Regions from separate parts of the Homo sapiens genome. Here region 2 is linked to region 1. Evidence: promoter capture Hi-C in 16 types of primary human blood cells and fetal thymus (Javierre and others, 2016). All regions are on one chromosome and are shown on one strand. The core of a region is centred on a gene start or on the middle of the fragment in contact, and the rest is flanking DNA. Distances in the headings are between cores, read along the strand shown.

Region 1 (6,072 bases), core at 3,525-6,024:
GTGAAGTCTAACTTCCCTTCCCTTGAGTGTCAGCCAGACACAACTACTTGCTTCCAACAAATAAATTCCAACAATGTGTAACTTGAGAGACTAGGTCCTAAAAGGTGTGGCTTACGTCTTGCTGGGTTTTTTTTCAGAGTGGGTGATAGAACACCAAGCAAAGCCACTCCTGAATTTCTGACCCACAGAAACTATGAGATAAGAAATGTTGTTTTAAGCCACTAAATTTTGAGGTGATTTGTTGGACAGTAGTATGTAACTAATATTGAGGTTCTCCAAACTTCTTGGATCTGTGGTTTGATGTCCTTCACTATTTTTGGAAACTAGCGTCATCATCTCTTGAAATATCTCTTTGCCCTATTCTCTCTCTAGTCTCCTTTTACGATTTCAATTACAGGTACCTCAGACTGAATAATGTCCTTCAGTGCTTAGATGCTCATTTGCAGTGTTCAATATTTCCCAAATCATCTCTTATGGTGCCCAACCATCTGTAGCAGAGCAACACCCTCTTCTCTGAGGGACTCCACAGGGCTGTTCTTCTAAATTCCACAATTTTAATAATTCCTCTTTCTTTTGTTTCCCCCAGCCCTAGAGATTAGCTGCTTCCTGAATGTACTACCTCTGTGATACTTTGTTTTATTACCTTTTCAGTTAATTAACCACTTACCATAATTAACAATGTTTATAGTAAACTTTCTCTGTTCAGATAACATGTATGGCTTCTGTTTCCTGATTAAACCTCAACTGATACAGAAATTGGTATGAGATTTATTTATACCAGTAAGTAAATCTTCAAAAATGGGAGTTTGAGATTGGTTTAGTTATGTCCTTGGGCTTGACTGCACTGCTAAACTCCTTGCTAATAGGAAGTAATGTTGTGAGCCATTGCATGAAATGGCAATACAATTTGCCAATTATTATCCCAATTTACTTGATCATGAACTGTTTTGCTAAAATTAGCACATTATAGACTAGCATTCCATAAAATACACTTTAGGAAATGCTTGCTTAGCCATACTTCTCTATTTAATGTATCCTCCCTAAACATATTAAGCATGTTCAAGTTGCTGTTCATGTTTTCTATAAATTCCTTGAGAATTCTTATTTATCAATTCATATTTTGATATCAAATTCATATTTTTATCAATATCAATTCAGATTTTACTTTAAGTGTTTATAGCTTTTCCTGATTCTGGACCCAACCCCCTCCCCAAAGGAACTAATTGGCTGCATTACTTTATACATACCTCTAATATGGCCATTGTCACATTATATGAAGTTGTTTGTTTATATATCTACCTATCCCACTAGAACGGGAGCTCTTTGAGGAACAGTCCTTGTCTGATTCATCTTTGTAGCTCAATGTCAATTAGAGTGCCTGGTATATAGTAGGTACAATTAATTTGTATGTGTAAAATTATTGAGAATGGTTATGAAGGCTAGCTATATTTACTCCCTTAAGAAAACTTAGAACACTTTGAATTTGCTGCCACAAAAGAGAATAAACAGACTTGTTTCGTTATTTAAAATAAATTGTTTATAGCAGTCTATATGTTACAATTTTCCTTCAACAATAGGCACTTGTTTACTTTTTTCCATTTTATAAATCTGTTCACTTATGAAGGCAAATAAATTCAGCTCAACAGGCATATACTGAGCAATTAACTCTGTGCCAGAAACTATGCTAAGCCTTATGTACACCAACATATAAATGCTTATAGTTCAATAAGGAGACAGATATAGTCAAATAAATTCAAGTATCACTGTGATAACTACAATAATAGAAGTATATACAAGTTGTAGGAGTAGTTTAGCAGAGGAGAAAATAAGCTCTTTATGAGGGGGGATTCCCCAAAGATTTTCTAACTGGAGTTTGAAAATGGAAAAGGAGTTTCTCAAGCAGACAACAGGCACTGGGTAAAAATCAAAGCATGGAGGCAAGAAATAGTAAAGTGTTGAAGACATAAAAGCAGTTTCAGAAGCACTAAGCACCAGATGGTTTGTGGCAGAAAATGAGGCTGGAAATTTAGGCAAAGGCCACATCATAAGAGCCTTCATGTCATTCTAAAGAACTTGGACTTATGCAGCAGGTGATGGGGAGACAGGGACGACAAATACCATTTATTTTACTTTTTCTGCATTGAAATAAAATCTGTATTATCATATATGCAACAAACATCAGTTGAGCCCTTCTAATACCTCAGGTATTTTGCTGGGAACTGGGTTATTCAATAGAGTTATGCCATTAAAGCTCACCATAAAAGACATTTTTGTTGATAAGGTAAATAGCCTAGATTTCATTTATAGTCTCTATCCTCCCAATTGATTCTTGGCATAAGCCTGCTGGACAGTATTTCTAACTCTGTTGCTAACGCGAACACCAACACTTTGAATCATTTCTGCCAGGCAGCAGATTTTTCAGCAACCCACTTTATAAACTGTAATTAGTTTTCCATAAAGAGCAAATTATTCCCTTTATTCCCTTTCTAAATTTCATAGCGCATATTATACTTTTGTTATACATACATACACACATACAATATCTACAAATTTCTATTTTGAGTTGGCCCAAAGGAATCCAAATCTTTTCAGGCTACAAACTCTTCTATTTAAAATAGAATTTTCTATTATAAAATAAGAAAATGAGAAAAATTTCCAAAATGAAGGTAATAGGCATCAAGAAGAGTAAGAAAGGTCCTTAGAAAGAAGAAAGAATGCACAAAAGAGTTAACAAATTTTAAGTACTACTGGTTGAGTATCCCTTATCTGAACTACTTGGGACCAGAAGTGTCTCAGATTTCGGATTTTTTTTAGATTTTGGAATATTTGCATATATATAATAAGCTATCTTGGGGATGGGACCCAAATCTAAACACAAAATTCATTTATGTTTCATGTATACTTTATACACATAACTTGAAGGTAATTTTATATAATGTTTTAAATAATTCTGTGCATGAAACAAAGTTTTGACTACATTTTAACTGTGACCTGTTATGTCGGATCAGGTGTGAAATTTTCCACTTGTGGTACTGGCACTCAAAAAGTTTCAAATTTTGGATCATTTTGGATTTTGAATTTTCAGATTAGGAATGCTCAACCTGTACCTAAGTAAAGAATACTAAGATACAAGTGCAGGTCTGGATATCAAATCACAGAATTACATGGAGAAGCAATACACAGATCAAATGGCCATCAGTTAATTCTGTATTAGAGGCTCAAAAGAACAAGTAAAACTTGAAAATTCAAAATCAATGATGGCAAAGAAAGGAATAGCAGCACCTTGTTAAAGACAACATTTTTTAAATATACAAAGCATATTCCCAAATGTGTTGCATATCAGTGTTCTCCATATTTGAAAAAATATGAAACACCTCAATGAAAACAAATGATCTGAAACTGATTGCTAATTTGGTACAAAACAAAAACTTACAGTTACCCCATTACCATGCTTGAATAAGAAGGTTGCTCAATTTGAGACTGGACATTGTGAAGTATTTTTCTGCCTGTAGAAATAGGCTGGAATGTCAGTTGTATATCTTGCTGCCAACAAGGGAACAGAAAAGATTTCCCAAGATTCTGTCAAGCCTGGTGATCCCATTTGTCTTTGGAAATGAAAGCCTAATTAAGAGACTCCCTAGGGACAGGTCAAAGGAGTTTTTATCCCCATCGTCCTTATCTTAGTTCCTTGATGCATTAGTCCTTCCCTTTAATTTAGTCTACCCTAAAACTAAAGAATACACATTGTGCAAGTTTCCACCTTTGCTTTCTCTACTGTAAATGCATTAGACTATTAACAGAATTACGAGTTTTAAATCCCACCTTCCTTATCTCTAAGCTGATGTTGATTTCTTAAAGTGTTTTTGAATAAAGCTTAACACTAAAAATTATTGTAATACTTTAATTGGATAACACTTTTTAAAAATATCGGAGTCTGACTAAAAGATTACAAAACCCCACAAACATCGTTATAATAAAGCTATTATGATAAATAATACTTTGTAAAATTTGAATTCGGTTTTATGTCCTAATTTCAAAGATTGTGGTTGCATGATATTATTTATCCAGGTTAAATTCCTGTTGGAATTATATTGACAGTGTTTCATTTCTTTGAAACAATTTTAGGGTTAAGCGTCTCTACAGTTAAAACAGAGAATATCAACTGTAGTCCCAGTTACTCAGGAGGCTGAGGCAGGAGAACCGCTTGAACCTGGGAGGCGGAGGTTGCAGTGAGCCGAGGTAGTGCCACTGCACTCCAGTCTGGGCGACAGAGTGAGACTCTGTCTCCAAAACAACAACAACAAACTTGAAGAGATGAAAATGTTCTATCCAATCATGATAATTCCGTGTGAGTTTTCCAATGTTTAGAAACACGTGTGGGCACCACTCCATCCCTGACCAGCAAGCTTCCTCCAGACCCACTCCACACCGCCATGTTAAAATGTCAACTTTTACTTTTTGGACTCAAACTACAAAATTTAACTATGTCTCCTCTTACCAAGATTCACAATGAACACCTAGGAGTCAAGGTAGGCTTCATAACGCTAAAGAGACCACGACTCTAATGACCACCCCAAACACAGCATTCCAGCCTAGCTGTGGTCTGCAATTACCCACTTCAGAGCCTCGGCGCAATGTCACAGCTGCAACTGATTGGTGTAACGTGCTTGTCATTCACATAGAGAGGGTGGGGCCTCAAAGCCCGATCTAAACCAGACTCCGTGTCTTACGTCATCGCCAAGCGACTAAAGCTGGAAGGGAGGGGGCGGGGTTGTGAGCAAATCTTGGTGGTGGTGGTGGTGGGGCGGCCTGAGAAGATATCATGGCTGCTGCCACGGAGCTTAATCGCCCGAGCAGCGGTGACAGGAACCTGGAGCGAAGATGCAGACCCAACCTCTCCCGAGAGGTGCTCTACGAAATCTTTCGCTCCCTACACACCCTGGTTGGACAGGTGAGAGGTGGCCTGAGGGACTGGGAATATGGAAACCATCCGGTCCCTCCTCGCCATTCTTTTTCTCTAGCAGAGGCCGGGGGCAGCTAGGCCTGCAGAGGTGTGGGATGCGGTCCCGAAGCCGAGGTGTGGAAGGAGCCCGGGCCCAGCCTCCTCGGTCGGAGTGAGGAGGACGGCGGTACCGGTTGCAGAGTCGTTTACCTTGCAGCTGTCCTCCCCAAGAGTGGGTGAGGTTGGCCTAAGTGAAAACCCGGCTCCGAGAGAGGCAGGCTTGGAGAGAATGAATGTGGAAAAGCTTCACTGCGAGTTTAGGAGGCGCTTAGCGTTCAGGGTCCTTTTTCCTCCAACTTACTCTTTATGGGAATTGGTTGGTCAGTAGGCCTGAGATTTATAGAAAAGCGCGCGCTTATTAGCTTTTTTTGGTGGGGGAGGGAGTAATTTGTTCTTATGAGTTACTTGGTTTTGTTTATTTCTTTTTTCCTTCGGGCTGTTTTGCGCATCTATAATCCTTTCAAATGGGGAGAAAAGTAAAAGGAATTCATTTAAAATACTTCTAGCGTAAAATGCTGTTGGCGTTAGAACTGTCGTTATTTAACTATTAACTAGTTTAACTGGCTGATAAATCGCTTTTGCAGAAATGTCATAGTAAAATTGGTTTTAAATTGAAATGGGCTTCTTCGATCAAGTCACTGTTTCGTTTCATGGTGTAAAATTCAAGTTTTAAATGAGAAACAATTTAAAAGTATGCTTGTTTACCTGCCTTTTAAAAGGAAATATTTTCTATCTTACATAGACCATTTTCTAGCCGTAAAAGTTTGTTTTGGGGCTGGTACTAGCGCAAGTGGACAAAGCAGGCATTTGTGTCAAAGATAATGGTAAATTCCTATGAAAATAGAACATTTGTCTGATTTGTGAAAATTATTTTTAAAGCCTTGAGTAGATGGAGAATCAGTCTTTTAAGAAGTTACTATTTTTAAAAATCGTAGTATGTTGTGTCTTACAAAGAACATTACTGTAAGTTAAACGGTTTTATGAAATGACGCAGTTATTAATGGAGTCTGCTTAAAGATATAACTTTTAAATTCAGTTGTTTGCCAAGTACTTACCAAAAACATTTTTTA
Region 2 (6,377 bases), core at 3,724-6,223, about 52 Mb before region 1:
GGGCTCCAGAGCCAGTATTCTAACTACTATACTACACTGCTCTTTGCTATAGAAGTTTTTATTTGTAGTTATACTTAAGAAAATGTTCAGTAAGCAATTTATAATTTATTTCATTAGGTGGATTCTGTCCTTTGACTTATTTTCATTTTGTTTATATAAAATCTTGAATGAATAGAGCCTTATAACATATTTTAGAGAGAAGTCACTCAGTAGGGCAGTATAACTAACAGTTGCCATCAAGAAACACGTCCAGAGTTGAAAGACCAGACAAATGGCAGATGTTGGATATATACTGAAAGGAATATAAGTCATTCTCCCATAAAGACACATGCAAGTGGATGGTCATTTCAGCACTATTTGCAATAGCAAAGCCATGGAATCAACCTAAATCTCCATCAGTGGTCTATTAATGGATAAAGAAAATGTGTTACATATACAACCTGGAATACCATGCAGCTATAAAAAAGAATGACAGGCCAGGTGCTGTGGCTCAGGCCTGTAATCCCAGCACTTTGGAAAGCCGAGGCGGGCAGATCACGAGGTCAGGAGTTCGAGACCAGCCTGACCAACATGGTGAAACCCCGTCTCTATTAAAAATACAAAAATTAGCCAGGTGTGGTGGCACACCCTGTAATCCCAGCTACTCAGGAGGCTGAGTCAGGAGAATCGCTTGAACCTGGGAGGCAGAGATTGCAGTGAGCCGAGATCGCACCACTGCACTCTAGCCTGGATGACAGAGCAAGACTCTGTCTCAAAAAAAAAAAAAAAAAAAAAAAAAAGAATGAGATCATGTTCTTTGTAGCAACATGAATGGAGCTGGAGGCCATTACCCTAAGAAGACTAACACAGGAATAGAAAACCAAATACTGCATATTCTCACTTATAAGACGGAGCTGAACATCGAGTACATATGGACACAAACAACAACAAAACAACAGGCACTGGGGCCGACTTAAGGGTGGAGGATGGGGGATGGGGAAGGATCAAAAAACTACCTATTGAGTACTATGCTTATTACCTGGGTAATGAAATAATCTGTACATCAACCCTAGGACATGCAATTTACCTTTGTAACAAACCTGCACATGCACCCTGAACCTAAAATAAAAGGTAAAAAATATAGCAGATGTTACAGGACAGTTCAAGAAAACACTCCACACTCTTATGTCCCAGGGGATTCCTACTTTAAGAAACGTTTCCAACTCCTTTTGTAAATAATTCTTTATTCGTATCCCCTTATGTGACCATTCAGTGATTTGTCTTTTAGTTCAATTCAACTAATATTTATTGAGTACTTAGCACAGTTTGGGCACTGTGCTTAAGACATACAAAGAAGAAATAAACTTGGCCTCTGCCCTGGAATTTCTGACAGCCTAATAGCAAAAACATGGAATCAACCTAAATGCCCATCAATGGTAGACTGAAGGGGAGGTGGACTGATTTATAAAAGTAAAGCCTTTTCCTGAAGTGAGACAACAGACTGCTATCATACCGTTTTATGATAGTCTTGGGGAAATAAAAAAAAAAATCCAGACTGCTATTAGAGTTTATCAATAAATTTTCATTAAAAGGCAAGATCTCTGATCCTTCTCAAGAGACTATTTGATTTTGATCACATTATTTTATTTAGAAAAAGGAGAGATTTGGGGTGGCTGAAGTATAGTTGTGATACTTAGAAACACCTGTTATTTAAGAGAAAAATCATCGTGTTTCCTTTGGCAGCACATTTACAAACACTGGAATGTTACAGAGATCAGTGTGGCCTCTGAGCAAGGATGACATGCAAATTCTTGAAGTGTTTCAGATTAAAAAGACAGAGAGAGAAACACTGTCATTACTTTTTAAACTCATTTAAAATCTGAAAACTGGGACCTTCCTTTCTTACCGTCTTATCTCACTGACCCTGATCCACAGACGCAAGGGAAGCTAAGCATATGATCACTCGTGGGGTAACTGTCATTTTTCTTTATCTCACATCTTGAGCACATTTGAGTGCCGTGCCCAGCACTCCAAGGATTTCTGTCAGCATGTATTTATTGGCCTTTTATTAGAAACTTTCTTACCTCATGTCTGCTCTCATGAATATAGATCAGAAATTAGAAACAAAAAATATTTATCTGGTAAGCAATTTCTTTGGTAACTGAACTAATAGGAACTACTGGGACTTCCTGGAAGTGAGGCTACCTTTTCCATTAGAGTTTATGCTTCCTCTTTTGTAGACTTCACACATTGCTCAAATATTTGTGGCGTGCATTCCAACTACAAGGTGCAATTGAGGGACGAGAAAAGGGAAAACTTAGTTGGGCAGACAGCTAAAGTTGGTCTTTGGTAAAATTCTTTTAAACAGAAAGACAGCCTGAAAAATCAAGCTACAGGCACACATAGAGTGGCCTGGGGAAAACTCAGGCAACAGCTGCCCTGATAAGAAAGGAAGGCCCAACATAGAAGCCTTTTGTTCTTTGTGTGATTAGCAGGTTCCCAGGAAAAAGTTTCTTCCCCTTTTCAGGCACATACATGGTGGGCTCTGTGGGAACTTGCATGGGGGTGGAGAGGGTGATTACCTAGAACCCACAGTTACACAAACAAGAGAAGCTGAACTTTATCCTTACCCAAGACATACCCACAGCTGCACAGATAAGGGGAGCTGCACAGATAGCTTTACAAGTAAGTTACACAAACAGCTACAGAGATGAGAGGAGTTTCTTATAAAAGCTTTTGGATTCAACTGTAAAAGTGGCAAAATGGCAAAGAAAGAAAGCTTTCTTCTTTCATATAATAAACTTTCTCTTCAACCTCACTCTGGTGTCCACACTCCTTAATTCTCTTGGTTGTGAGACAACAAGCTTGGATAACACCTCAGACAACGAGACCACTGACCACTGACCCGTTTCACAATGACGTACTACAGGATGGTGTATGCTGGGTATTCATACATCGTCATGCAACTTCCTAGTTTTATGTGTAAGGTAGTTTCCTCTGTCATCACCTTGGTATTTCCCATCTAGTCACGGTATTAAGTGGGTCTTATGCGCTTGTTAAGAGCTGGTAAGAGAAGCTTAACATTCACTTGATGGAATGGTTACTGTGGCTTGTATCCACAGGAGCTCCAGCTCATGCTTAAAATACTGTGTTAGAACAAATGGATCAGAGTGAATTCTGTAACAGTAAATCCACAGAACTGAAAATTACTGACTTGCATCATAAACTGGTTGCAGTGGCAAGGCAGAGAGTTCAGATTCGTGTTGTACTGGGGAAAGAAGAAACCAAAGAAAATAAGTGGTTCATACACAGGGGACTATTTAACTGATCCAAGCCAGAAGACTACTGAGGGTGAAAGGAGCATTATCAGTAATTATGTTTAGACAAAAGTTGTGACTGTCCTTAGTAAACCAGGATAGACGTAGAGTCAATTCAAAAAGAAAGAAAGAACAAACATATCTAATGTACATTAAGAACCCAGGGATATCGGGTTCTTAATGTGCATATTTATTGGATTGCCCAGAGCTTTGACCTTCAAGTATAATTGAGTTCTTGAAACTTAGATTTAGGTTTGTGGTTAAGGGGCAAAATAATCAGATTCCAAATAGGGTTCTGCAGACAAATCCCACAGGTCCTAAAGTCTCTGGGTCTTTTCCTTGCCATTGTGGTATCTCAGGGGCTTGTGTAGGCAATGATAACCAGTTCCATACTTCTGCTAAGAGAAATTTGGGGATCAGAAAATCTTTCTCTGCAGCTCTTCAGAGTCTCTTTAATTTACTTCAATAACAAGGAAATCAGAAATCTCAGGACAGTGCTGGATGTGGCAGAAATTCAGGGCAATTCACAACTTTCCTACCAATTTAGAGTTACCTGTCTGGAATCACTTCAACTGACAGTGGAAGATAGTTTATAAAATTGTAGGGGAGGCAAAATTTCACCTTCGTCCCTGTAGGGTCCCAGCATGGCCCTAGTATTAAATTGATTTAAGATATTAATAGACTGACAGGAGACAACCACACAAATGTTTATTTTACATAGCACGGGGGCCCTCATTAAAAAAAAAAAAGACCTAAAGCAGCAGTTAAGAGCCAATTGCTTATAGAGTGAAATGGACAAAAAATAGTAGTTGTGAAACATGATAAGGCGAAGGGGCTTGGGGTAAAGAAGCGACTAGAAAGATAGGGATTAACAAATTTTGTTTGGACAGATTTCCCTCGACTTCAACTTTCTGTCCTTGAAGATAACAATGTTATTTTATAGGGAAGACATCTTTCACATGGGAATTTCATCTCCTCCTTTTAAGACACATAATATCCATGACAGTGATCTTGCACCTGCTGTTTTTAAGTGCCTTTAATTTAAAATAGTCAATATGCCACAGCAGCATATTTTGAGGTGGTATATTATTAACTCCTTCAAGGCTAAAAGCTTTGAATATGCCGGGGTAGTTACCAGACTGGAGAACCTTCTCAGCTATTTGCCACTTGTGGAATGCATTCAAATGTACTGAGTGCTTATTAACTTTTCTCTCAGTCCCTCACTCTGCTGCTCTTCTCGCCTCATCTCACATAAGGGAAAACTCAGGCTCCAAAAGCAAAGTGATTCCACCAAGATGACAATGGAATCGGGACCTGGTGTCCAAGCCTGGTCCTCGCACGAGGTAGATACTCCCTGAGATGCTGGGGAAGAGCCATGGTAGGGCCACTCATGGCCCTCTTCCTTTGGCGGACCTTGGAATCCACCTTCCCTGCGTTAAAGTGCTCCACCAGGTGACGCCGGAAGAGAAGCCAGCAGTAAGTACATGTGAAATCCAGTAGCTGACCACAGACACGCGAGCGATAAGAAAAAGCTCGCTGCTTCTTTTCTCAACACTCCGCCAGCTGCGTCAGAGGCCCTTGACCCGCACTCAAAATGGCGGCGGCGGCGTCAGCATCAGCGGCCTCCTGCCCGTATCTATCGTGGCGGCGACGGGACCCGCCTCCCTGGGCGCCGGAGTCATGTGACCCACACAATGGCTGAGTGGCTACTCTCGGCTTCCTGGCAACGCCGAGCGAAAGCTATGACTGCGGCCGCGGGTTCGGCGGGCCGCGCCGCGGTGCCCTTGCTGCTGTGTGCGCTGCTGGCGCCCGGCGGCGCGTACGTGCTCGACGACTCCGACGGGCTGGGCCGGGAGTTCGACGGCATCGGCGCGGTCAGCGGCGGCGGGGTGAGCGGCAAGCTGCGGGGATACGCGGGGGGCGGCAAGAGCCCGCCCCGTGGGGCCAGCCCCACAAGCCCCCGCGGCGTTGCCCTGCGTTTCCACCGGCTCCACTCTCCGCCGCATTCCCCTAGGGTGCCAGTCAGCAGGCGGTTGGGGCGGGCCCGCTGCGGGGCTGGGGCGGGTGCTTTCTCGTTTAACACGAACCAGACAGGCAGTTAGGTTTGAACAAATGAGGATCCGGAGGTCCAGAGAGTATAGGTGCAGAGAGTAAAGTGACAGGTCTAAGTAGTGAAGTAGCCGGGGCTGGAACCCTCGTCCCAGGCAGTGGGGCACAGGCTGTCTTCATCGCGGAGATGGCAGTCGGGGAGCGTCGCTCCAGAAAGGGCCAGGGAGTGCGGGAGCGTCCGTGTGCGAAAGAGAACGCCCCAGTGGGATGCTTTGGCTGTGTCTCTCCCTTTTGGAGGAGTTGGTGGGTGGTGGAGTCGTTAAGTCCCGTGCAGTTGTTAGTGCAGGGTAAGAATGGGCTCCTCCAGAGAGGGTAGCGCCGAATAGGATTTCGTTTGGAGGCAGGACTGGTGCCTCAAGGTCTCTTTAAAAGGAAGATAAGCGAGCGGCCTGAAACTACCGGGTACTCCCTCTGGGCCCATGGGCTTCATGGTGGCCGACCTTTGGGTGAGAAGGTTTTTGTTTTTTGGTTTTGTATCCGAAATTACATCTAGGGCTAATGTTTCTTGAAAATGTTAAGGTTGAACTCGGATTTTTGGGGTTGAGTTGGATGGAGCTTGCATCCTTACATTCAACTCAGAACAAGCTTGAATGCCTGCTGCAAGGATGACCTGGTCTGTAGTGTGACCACAAGATATAACCTTCTGCTAGGGGAAATTTTTTTCCCCCTGGAGTTAGCTGATCCTTTTTGATTTTTATGTTTTCATTCCCTAATTTGCAATCTCTCCAGCCGTGCTGATGTGTATTTCAGGGGAAACCTGTGGGCCGATGAGTTAATGCATTTATTCTTTGCTACTACTATTCTCCTTTTTATGTTTTTGGGCTAAACCTGAAACAGCCAATATTTCATGGAGTGAGGCCCCATCTTTTTTATAGCTTTACTTGTGATACTATATCTAGGGTAAGAGCTTACCGAAAAATGGAAGTCTTTGTTTCCATTAGGTTTATTAAGCCCAGTTTAAAATTACTAAGA

What was found. Contacts are between HindIII fragments. The CHiCAGO score rates a contact against its expected background, and 5 or more counts as called.
Region 2: the fragment with the promoter of GALC here is called in contact with the fragment with the promoter of MBIP in region 1 in 3 of 17 cell types (total CD4 T cells, activated CD4 T cells and fetal thymus); the score reaches 8.0 in total CD4 T cells.

The regions. Positions count from the first base shown.
Region 1 is chr14:36,319,339-36,325,410 of GRCh38, reverse strand. It overlaps MBIP (MAP3K12 binding inhibitory protein 1), which reads left to right and starts at 4,774. Exons shown (of 9, transcript NM_016586.3): 1 at 4,774-4,951. The coding sequence starts at 4,823. RefSeq lists enhancers at 4,376-4,425, 4,826-5,085. The HindIII fragment of the contact is 840 bases long and covers 4,409-5,248 here.
Region 2 is chr14:87,991,778-87,998,154 of GRCh38, reverse strand. It overlaps GALC (galactosylceramidase), which reads left to right and starts at 4,973. Exons shown (of 17, transcript NM_000153.4): 1 at 4,973-5,185. The coding sequence starts at 4,991. It also overlaps the pseudogene RNU6-835P. RefSeq lists enhancers at 4,636-4,965, 4,660-5,160 and a silencer at 5,116-5,305. The HindIII fragment of the contact is 1,583 bases long and covers 4,410-5,992 here.